Linked DNA regions of Homo sapiens: region 1 is linked to region 2. The links are contacts of gene promoters, found by promoter capture Hi-C in human tissues and cell types (Jung and others, 2019). All regions are on one chromosome and are shown on one strand. The core of a region is centred on a gene start or on the middle of the fragment in contact, and the rest is flanking DNA. Distances in the headings are between cores, read along the strand shown.

Evidence for each region. The method cuts DNA at HindIII sites, captures the fragments that hold promoters and counts their contacts. A contact is called where the count stands out against the background at its distance.
Region 1: a fragment that was not itself captured here is called in contact with the fragment with the promoter of SLC6A18 in region 2 in 2 of the 25 tissues and cell types used here (liver and thymus).

Annotation. Positions count from the first base shown.
Region 1 is chr5:1,316,176-1,321,831 of GRCh38, forward strand. It overlaps CLPTM1L (CLPTM1 like), which reads right to left. Exons shown (of 17, transcript NM_030782.5): 14 at 5,589-5,644; 15 at 5,460-5,504; 16 at 4,441-4,556; 17 at 1,577-2,278. The coding sequence ends at 2,194. Among named protein-coding and RNA genes, the nearest start is that of MIR4457, 9.6 kb to the left of the region's middle. RefSeq lists enhancers at 1-130, 421-570, 3,774-3,918 and a cis regulatory region at 3,846. The HindIII fragment of the contact is 8,012 bases long and covers 401-5,656 here.
Region 2 is chr5:1,221,591-1,226,708 of GRCh38, forward strand. It overlaps SLC6A18 (solute carrier family 6 member 18), which reads left to right and starts at 3,791. Exons shown (of 12, transcript NM_182632.3): 1 at 3,791-4,047. The coding sequence starts at 3,888. SLC6A19 (solute carrier family 6 member 19) reads left to right here. Exons shown (of 12, transcript NM_001003841.3): 12 at 111-3,521. The coding sequence ends at 314. RefSeq lists an enhancer at 4,185-4,727. The HindIII fragment of the contact is 11,488 bases long and covers 671-5,118 here.

The DNA of each region.
Region 1 (5,656 bases), core at 3,157-5,656, 95 kb after region 2:
GCCGCAGGCGCTGACCCACCGCGGGATGTGCCCCAGGAGGCAGAAGAAACGCTGGGAACCGCACCTAACCTTGCCAGCATCCCCCAGGCAAAGCCAGGCACTTTGAGTTCATCGGTGGAGTTGGGCGATACTCCTTTCCCGTTTGTGTGCTTAGCTGCTGCCAACAGGATGTGCTGGGTGAAGCCTTACAGAACACAGCCAGTTGTGTTTTATAAAGCAAGGCTCCCCTCCCCCAAAGACAAATAAAACCACAGGTGTGGAAGGGACACCCTCCACCGCACCCCGCCCTAGTAATCTGACACCGCAGGCAAAGGCACGGCCTGTGTGGGTAAGATCCATTGTAAACGTTTAAAACTTCCTGTTCCCTGATGCCTCAACTTCCCCGCAGACCGACGCACCTGTGATGGGCAGGGCCGTGTGACCTCGTGACCTTCACATACACCAATGAAGACCCTCACGCCTTCTGCTGTCTTTCCCCCACTGCTGACTTGCCTGCGGGCCCCCACTATCTGCCCTGCCTCTGGAGCCGCCTCCCGTGTGCCCCCCCAGGCCCCTTAAGGTGCTGTGCGTCCCATCTGGAACCGGCAGTTCACCCGCTCTCCCAGCCACCCTTCCAGACCCCACTTACAACACACGACTAAGTAACACAGTACAGGCCGTGTATTCGTATTTGTTTTCCTGTGCCAACTCATCTGGTATCTTCGTATTTTAATGAATAAAACTGAAAGATGACAACTTGAAGCCCCAGTGCATTCCTCTCAAATCGAGTGAAGTTTACAACACCTTAATTATAAAAGATTTATCTGATCCAGAAGAAAGCAGAGTGTACAGAAACTTCACTGTCATCTGCGAATGGACTGAGAGCATCTGGATTTGGTTCTCAGCCTGAATGAGCATCCTGGAATGGTGTGTCTCGTCCATTTACGTGGAGACACATGGAACAGGCCTGCAGGCTTGGGGCTCTGAGCAGGGCTCCCAAAGCCCCTCAGCTGCAAGGAAGCCAGGCCCATGAGAGGGGAGCCTGTTCCAGAAACACAAGAGGATGAAAGCTGTTATTGGCAAAGGAGACTTAGAGCAAGGAAATGACCAGGAATAAAAAAAGATTATATATTTAGAGGCCAGGTGTGGTGGCTCATGCCTGTACTCCCAGCACTTCAAAAGGCCAAGGCGGGTGATCACTTGAGATCAGGAGTTCGAGACCAGCCTGGACAACATGGCAAAACCACATCTCTACTAAAAATATTAATACAAAAAAGCTGGATGTGGTGGTGCACACTTGTAGTCGCAGCTACTCAGGAGGCTGAGGCAAGAAGATTGTGTGAACATGGGAGGTGGAGGCTGCTGTGAGCTGAGAACAACAAACCCCACAAAAACTAACTTCAACAAACATTAAACTTCACTACACACCGAGTCCAGCAGTTCTCCACCCATCTTTCTATTCCATTTCTCTCTCTCTGCCTCAACCTAGGGCAAGATAAGCTTGACCTGATGGGTCATGGCTCTGTACAATAGTTTAGTCTTAAACAACTAAGATGCTACGTATCTAAGAACACTCATGACTCAAAGGCTTGCAAAGGGCTCTTTAAATTTGCTCTTTTAATGCATAAATAAATCCATATCATGTATTACTTTCTGGAAAAGGGTTAAACTCAAATATCCGAAATACTTTCATTATACCAGGTCAAGAAAAATGCCACAGCCAGAAAAATTTATTTTAAAATAGAAACATACATTAAGCTTTAAAACAACCAACTCTCAAACAAAAGAGGAAAGAGCCTTTGATCCCAGAGTCCATGCGGAATGAATTCCATACGTGTTTGAAATTCACATAAGGAGCACTTAGAAAACCACCTGAAATGGAAATCCAACAGCCCCCTTGCCTGTGAGGGCTCCCACCCCTGCCCGCGTGAGGACATGGCCGAACCCCGGACACTCGTGTGCCGGGAGCCACCACAGCTCAAGGTGACCGGCAGCACCCAGCTCTGTGACCAAGACAGATGTTCACACGTGGGGGCATCGTAAGCGCTACCAGCTCCAAATCTGACGTGATGGGAACTTGGGAGATGTCTGAGAAATGTCCGAAGGGATTTTGGCAACACAGAAAACGCAATGTCTAGGAATTCCTCCAAATGCTTCCAAAAATACTCATTGACAATTCAAGTTGCACTTGGCTGGCGGCAGCCCGGGCGGCCTTCAGTCCGTGTGGGGCGCCCGCGTGGCCTTCTCCTCGTAGGACTCCCCAAACTCGTTCACTCTGCGTTTATCCACAGGATAAAGCCTGCAATGACACAAATGAGCACATCAGCAAACCCCACTGCAGGGGCTATTTTTCTAAGAGGAGGACTTGGCATCCTCGATTTATTTTCCAGTGAGCTGCCACAGTGAGCAAATTAACTAAAAAGTCGAATCCTCAGAAGTTTTACTGCCGAGGGCTGAGGAGGGATTTCTGAGTTGTGTTTTGTTCTGCATGGCCAGGCCAGCGTGCTGCTCTCAAGGAAAGGGAAGCTTGGCCGAAGGGACGACCCGGAGGCTGCACGGGCTGCCATGGCTGAAGGGGGGACCCGGAGGCTGCACGGGCTGCCTTCTGGGAACGGTGGCATCACGGAGACTCGAGTGATCAGAACAGGAACCGCTGTGTTCAGGGACCACGTCTCATCAGCTGTGAACACTTGGCAGGACACTGCCGCCGCCTTTGATCCTGAGCGCCCCGGAGGCCTTGCCAACATCACCCCTACGTATGGATGAGGAAGCTGTGGCATAAGGGGCAGCTCTACACGGCCGCGAACAGAAGTACAGGGTTTCAGCTTAAAAACAGACCTGCTGCCCACCAAGGGCCCTGTGATCCTGGCCAAACACCGTTTGCAGGTCTGGAGCCATTAACACAGAGCCTGAGTACAGCACAGTTTCAGGCACGCCCCGGGCCACCTGCGAGGACTTGGGAGCCACTTGAAGGGCTCACAGTTGAGACAACCACACCAGGCGCAGCAGCGTCCGGGGCTCCGTGGCTTGGACAACCTCAGGCTCTGCAGGGGGCAGGCGGCCAGCTGGGGGATCTGAGAATGGTGAACGGGGGACAGGAACCAAGCCCCGTGTGAGTGTGAGTGTTGCTTATGGTGAAATAGCCCTTCCCGCTGACACAAGCTGGAGCTCCCGTGCAGGGGCTGCACGAGACAGCAACAGGGTGGGGGGGGGCAGCCGGCGGCCAGGCCTGGAGAGCTGGGCAAGGGCGGCCATGAGCCACTGTGTGGATGTGCCAACTGCACCCGAACAAAGAGTTAAACCAGGCAGAACCATGCCAGCCTCATGCTGGCTGGGACAGAGGCTCTGAACACCTGGCGAGGTTGAGTGTGGAGACAGGGCGGGGACGGGAGCACTGCGCTCCCCAAGGGCCGGCACCCCGGACCTAGGCAGGACCCGCCAGGACGGCCTGGGGGAAGAGGATCCCTCTCCTGCACTAGTAGGATGGCCCCAGGCCCTGAGGGAAGGGCACAGGGAAGTGTCACAGCCGTGGTGTGTGAGGTGGCCTCCTGGTCGGGGGAGGGAGATGGGAAAAGGGACCTTGAGGGCCAGAGAAAGGACACAGCCAGGAGGCTCTGAGACACTTGGCAGCAGGTCTTGGGGGTGACACACACTCCTTCGACCCCTGGACAAGGCCCTGGGGCCGGCACTGGAGGTGAGGGCAGTGCTTGCAGTGGTCCAGATGCAACCCTCCCGAGGGGAGCCCCAGATCCCTGGCTCCTACCCTGGCACAGCAGAGCTGGAGGGAGGTTTTGCTGACTGAGAGGGCAGATGTCAGCCCTGGAGGGAAGCGGGAGGCCCAGGGTGGGGCCTGAGCCTCTGCATTTGGAAAATTCCGAGGCCCGGGGTGGGGCCTGAACCTCTGCCTTTAGAAAATTCCACAAAGCCTTTTCCTCAGCCGTCAGCCTTCAACCTGAAGGCCAAGCTGAGAGGTCCACGCAATGCAGTCTTCAGAGGCCCTGGTGGCTGGTTTAAGGGGTGCGGCCAATGCTGAGGTGAGTGAGCTCCCCAGTGACATTGTGCCCTGCAGGTCCACACTGCTGGCTGGACACTTCGAGGCTAGCGCCAAGTATGGATTAGCCATGCTACGGTCTCTGTTCTGCTCAATAGCAATGACTGTGAATAGGTAAATAAATCGCTTAAGGAGAGACATTTGCTTTCAGTGGCTCATCAATAATTCACATAGAAACGAGCATTTCTAAAGCACAGTGAGGAGACAGAGCTGGAACAGTTTCTTGCCAGGACATATCATGGGCAACTGGAACCCAAGTTTAGGCAAGACAGGAAAAACCACCACCTGCAAATTATCTTTTCCCTCAAATGGATAAACAGGCGCAGGGTGCGGTGAAAGCCGTCATTCCGTTCAGCAGCAGCCACGCCGCTGAGACGGAGCAACGGCCGAGCATACGCAGCCGCACTCACCACCGCTGGTACAGGTAGACCAGAAACACCACGTCGTCCCGGAAGCAGGCCAGCCGGTGAGACGTGGGCATGGTGATGATGAAGGCAAAGACGTCATCAATGAAGGTGTTGAAAGCCTGCAGGGCCAGACGGGAGGAGGGTGAACCCCAGTTGCTGGGGCTGGAATCCTACTGTTTTTGGTAACCTAACCAAGCCAACGGCTTTTGGCAGATGCTTGGAACTAACTGGAACTCCTCACAGCAACAACAAAAAGAGCAGAAAGCCGGCAAGTGGAGATACGGAGCTCTGTTCCCTCATGGGCTCCCCACAGCTGCTGGCACCCGACACACTGCGGGTCTTGCCCAGGCTCCCACATCGGGGAACCCAAAGAGAATGGCCTGAAACCAGAGCCAAGGCTGGAGCCGCCCGAGACAGAGCCAAGGGCAGAGCCACCTGAGACCAGAGCCAAGGTTAGAGCCGCCCGAGACCACAGCCAAGGGGAGAGCCAAGGGCAGAGCCACCTGAGCATTGCCCTTTCCTCTGGGAGCTTGTAATTGACTTCAGAAAAGTGCAAATCATGTCCCATTAACTCAGCTCCGCCTGCAATGCCGAGGCACTTCTAATCCCACACGGAGCCAAGGGGGCCTCCACAGCTCTGCCAGCGGGGAATGGCCACGGCCCATGGGGGCTTCCATTCCTGCCTGGGAGGCCTGAATCCGTTGTCCCCAGGCACCGGTTACTGAGCCACAGGGGGTCTGTGTCTTGACACATGTGCTAAGAAGAAACATAAACACTAAAAAAGAAAAAGAAAACCAAATCTGTGACAAGTGAGAGAACCACCCCAGTCTTTCAGGGTCTGAAGTTACTCTATAGCTCTTCGCTTTTTTTTTTAAAGGAGCCTCCTCAATATTCTTCAATGAAAGGGACAGGTGCAGATGCACTCTGGGCAGAGATGGCCCCAGTAATGCTGTTGGCTGGAAGACGCCCTTGCTCACGCTCTGCTCAGTGAGAAGGGATTCCTCACCGGCTGTCACACTCACCTTGTAGGTGAAGGCCTTCCAGGGCAGATGTGCCACTGACTTCAACTGAAACAGGAGAGACAGGCCCAGGTCAGCTGTGGGCAGCACAGGAGACGGGGGCCGGGCCGCGGGCAGCACACACCGCCTTACCTTGTAGTTCACAAAGAGCTGGGGCAGCATGAAGAGGAAACCAAAGGCATAGACCCCTGCAGAAAGAC
Region 2 (5,118 bases), core at 2,541-5,040:
GCCTGCCCCACAGGACAGGAGGTGAGAGTCATGGGGTGAGGGGCCTTTGCCTCAAAGTGAACCCCACTGGCTCCCGGGATGCCTACTCACCCATGGGGCTCTCTCCCCAGGAGGAATTTCCCAAATCCCAGAAGATCTCCTACCCGAACTGGGTGTATGTGGTGGTGGTGATTGTGGCTGGAGTGCCCTCCCTCACCATCCCTGGCTATGCCATCTACAAGCTCATCAGGAACCACTGCCAGAAGCCAGGGGACCATCAGGGGCTGGTGAGCACACTGTCCACAGCCTCCATGAACGGGGACCTGAAGTACTGAGAAGGCCCATCCCACGGCGTGCCATACACTGGTGTCAGGGAAGGAGGAACCAGCAAGACCTGTGGGGTGGGGGCCGGGCTGCACCTGCATGTGTGTAAGCGTGAGTGTATGCTCGTGTGTGAGTGTGTGTATTGTACACGCATGTGCCATGTGTGCAGATATGTATCGTGTGTGCATGTACATGCATGGGCACTGTGTGAGTGTGCACGTGTATGCACACATATACATGTGTGTGGGTGTGTGTATTGTATGTGCATGTGCCATGTGTGCAGATGTGTCATGTTGTGTGTGTGCATGTACATGTATGGACATTGTGTGAGTGTGCAAGTGTGCATGCATATACATGTGTGCGATATTTGCTGCCCGTGTGTGTGCATGTATATATAGACATACATGCCTATGTTGTGTGTGGTGTGCATATGTGTGAACACACACGTGTATACATGCATGCACATGTGCTCGTACAATGGGTGTCCACATGCACGTGTATATGTATATCTGTGAGTGTATATACATGCATGCAATTGTGTGTATGTGTGTTCTGTGTGTGCGTTTGCAAGTATATATGCACATGTGTATATGTACATGTATGCCTGTGTGACGTGTGTATATGTGAGCATGTGTACGTGTGTGTATACGTGTGTTGTGTATATGTGTGTGTCTGTACCTGTTTGTGTATATGTGTGTGATGTGTGCTCGTGTGTGTGCATATTCAGGCAGGTGTGCATTTGTGCATGCCAGTGTGTATGTATGTGCGCATATGGACACGCATGGACACGCATATGGACACATATGGACACACATATGGACACGTGTGGATATGTGTGCGTACACGTCGCTGGGACACATGCCTGCCACTCGGGGCCCAGCTGCCCTCTGTGTTTGTCCTTGCCACAGTCACGGGGTGCATGTGCAGAGGGGAGCAGACCACTGGGGACGTGCTGTGCCCTGCACGTGCCCGGGGGAAGCGGAAGCTGCAGCTGGGGTGGGGGCAGCACCTCTATGCTTCATCTCTGTGGGTGGCAGGAGACAAAAGCACAGGGTACTATCTTGGCTCCTGGGAGCGACTCTTGCTACCCACCCCCACCCATCCCCTTCCCCTTGGTGTTGACCTTTGACCTGGGGGTTCCCAGAGCCCTGTAGCCCTCGACCCGGAGCAGCCTCTCGGAAGCCGGAGTGGGCAGTTGCTGGCGATTCTGAGAAAACTTGGCCGCATCCACCGGGGCCCTGCCTCCAGTCGGCCGCTGCCGAGTCTCTGCGTTCTGGCCGCTTCCCGGCTTAATGAATGCCAGCCATTTAATCATTGCTCCTGCCACCACAAATAGATGAGCAGTTAAATAAAACTCAACTTGGCATAATTCAAGGCAAATACCACTCTGTGCATTTTCTTAAGAGGACATGAGCTGTGTGAATTTTTAGCCAGCCTTTGGAAAAGATGGGTTACAGGGTAACTCAACCCTGGCTGCCATCCTTGGGCACTGTGTGTGTCCAGGGCACCTTGGAGGACCGTGCAGCCCCCAGAAGCTTCCAGCTCCCGCACCACTCAGTGAAGCCCAGCCTGGCGCCTGCCCTGCCCCCGTCACGGGATGGGCCCCCATTGGGGTTCAACATTCCATCGCAGCCAAAGGCAGTCGGCACTTGGGACATCTGCTTCCACGGACAGGTCACCTCCGCTTTGCACGGAAGAATCTGGATGCTTACATTAAACTGGTGTTCTGAGAGTTCCTACGGACAGGTCACCTCCGCTTTGCATGGAAGAATCTGGATGCTTACATTAAACTGGTGTTCTGAGAGTTCCTACGGACAGGTCACCTCTGCTTTCCATAGAAGAATCTGGACGCTTACATTAAACTGATGTTCTGAGAATTCCTACAGGCAGGACTGAAAGCCTGGTGTGTGCCAGTATGATGTTCCACCCACAGAAACCTGGTCACAATCGTCCCTTCCAGCACCCCATCCAGCAGTGACTGCACACACTGAGTCCCCTACCAGCCCCTTTCACCCTGCTGACTGTCACTGGGCCCTGGGATGCGCAAGACTCCACAGCAGCAGAGGTGGGGGGACATATCACAGCCTCTGCCCCCGGCTGTGATGCCACCGAGGGGCTCGCCTGCTGATGGCTTCAACAGGGTCTCACCTCATCTTTTCCTGCTCTTTGGCCCTGGATCGAGAAAATTTCCATCAGTGCCCCATTAATATGCTGCCCTGTGGCATCTGCCCAGGAGGCCCTGCCAGGCGTGCACAGGTGTGCATTGGTGTACCCTGGCATGCACAGGTGTGCACTGATGTGCCCTGGCATCCATTGGTGTACCCTGGTGTGCCTGCCATAGGACCCTGGGCGGGAGCTCCCATCTCATCTACATCTCCTGATTCATGCGTTGTTTCATAGGTTTCAATGTCTCTGTAAATGTGGTAGAAATGCAGGCTTTATGGGCATAAAGTGTACATTTCTAAATAAATCCCTTCTATTGAGTATGCTCACCCTAGAAGTTACTGTTGTCCAGACGTAGAGGGATGAGTGAGCCAGTGACCTCAGACGGGATGGTGGGGACGGCAGGTCCAGCTCCTGCCTCCTCCTGGGGGGTCTGGCTTTGGGGGCTTGCTCCGAAGAGGCCATGGCCCAGGCCTGTGGCCTCACAATGGGGACCAACCAGCTCTTCTCATCTTCTTCCCTCACACTTCCTCTCACTCAAATAAGAACCTTCCAAAAATGTGTCCACCTGGGCCCCTGCCCTGGGACTCATGGATTTGGAGTTGTGGCCACACGGTTGAGGGGTGCAGTGTCCAGTGGAATGGGGCAATTGCGGGCCTGGGGGCCCTTGGCCTGTCCGTGGCGGGAGCATCTGCAAGGAGGAGCCCCAGAGTCCAGGGAGCACTGTGGGGAGCTCCTTAGAGCTGAACTCACCCGGCGTCAACTCATCAACCCTCCACCCATGGACAGGGGTGCCCCCAGCACAGGAGAGGACTCAGCCCTCTGCCCCCACGCACGGTGGGTGCCTGTCACCCTGTCCTGCCCAGCGGCCCGAGGGCAGCAGTGGGTGTGAGGGCAGCCCCCGGCCTCCCAAGAGCAGCTGAGAGGATCCCTGCGGGAATCCGGGCTTCGGGTGCATGCGATCTGATCTGAGTTGTTTCTGACAGTGACAGAGTGACAATCTATAAGTATCTCAAGATCAAATGGTTAAATAAAACATAAGAAATTTAAAACGATTAAAATATGCCTCAGTCTTGGGAATCCTGGTGTCTGCAACAAAAAAACTTGAGGCTGTCCTTGCAAACGGTCCTCATGGTGCTGGGGGTGGTGCCAGGCCCGGCGTTTGCCTGGAACACAGAGCATGCGAGAAGGAGCAGAGGACGTGGGTGCCAGGGAAGGACCCTGGCGTCAGAGCCAGGGCCTGGACCTGAGTTACCCATTAACGGCACTCCACTGGTTTTCCTTTAAAGAAATGAATAAATACAACTGCAGTGGGGCTGCTTGTGGTTTCCAAACGTCGGCAGAGGCTGGAGACGGCTCTCTAGTGCTGGGTGTGGAGTGAGGCACCACCCTTGCCCTGAAGCCTGGGGCACTCAGTCACCATGGCTCATGCCCCAGAACCGGACCCGGCCGCCTGCGACCTCGGGGATGAGAGGCCCAAGTGGGACAACAAGGCCCAGTACCTCCTGAGCTGCACTGGGTTTGCCGTGGGACTGGGGAACATTTGGCGGTTCCCATACCTGTGCCAGACCTATGGAGGAGGTAAGCACCCACCTGCGTCCTGGGGCAGACCCCTAAGCAGGGGAGGCCGTCTCCACCCTGACCTGCCAGGCGCCTGCCACGCATCCCCAGTGCTTGGGCAGAGTCACTCCTCCTGGAAACCAGGGTGCACCATTGCCCACGGCAGAGTCAGTCCCCTCAGGGCCCACCTGCAGTCTTCTGGGACCTCAGGGCAGCTTCACCACTGCCCACAGCACGGAGGATCCAGTCCCCTCGGGGTCCACTATGGTCTTCCGGGACCTCAGGGCAGCTTCCTGCCAGGCGTCAGGTTGAATGGGCCGCCCTGCCCGACACACACACCCTACAAACAGTGAGCGCTCTTCCATCTGAATGTCGTCAGTTCTTTAAAGAACACACAATCCGCTCTGGGTTTCCTCACCACAGCCTTGGTGTGTCCAGACATGTGCTCAGGTGCCCTTCTCCGAGGTTCTTTGCAGGAATTTGGGGGCCCACCCCTCGCCTCCCTGGCTTTGGTTCTCTGGGAGAGCCCTGTGGGGGGTGCCAGGATGTTCAGAACTGTCTGGGTGACTTTAGTGACCTTGGACTCACCACCCCCAGAAGTGCATTGGTGACTGAAATAGGCTCCCACGCACCTCGAGCCTCCCCTCACCCTGTGCCTGCTTCTCTTCATGCAGGGGTCACACTCTGCTCTCCATGTGGCGACACAGGATGTAGGGACAGGCATGAATCACTGCTCTCAGGGAGCCGACGTACAACATCACGCATGGACACCCAGGTCTTCCCCAGGCAACACGGGCAGGGGCTTCCCAGGCCGCAGGGTCCTCCTCAGGCCAGGCCGGGCTGCTTGGTCAGCCTGTTCCCCGGGCCCTCAGCTCCTTCCCTGAGAGCCCCGCACAACTATCCCTTGTTATAAGGTTACTCCTTTAAAGTGTTTTTCCTCCTGCTTAAGAAAAGATTCTCAACAGGCAGAAAATGCAGGAAATGCGCACAAATGGAAAAAACAAAAAGAAACACCCGTCACTGCCACCCTCGGGGCACTGGGGTCTCTTTGGGGCTTTGGGGCTGGAGAGGGTGCATTGGGCCTTGGATCTT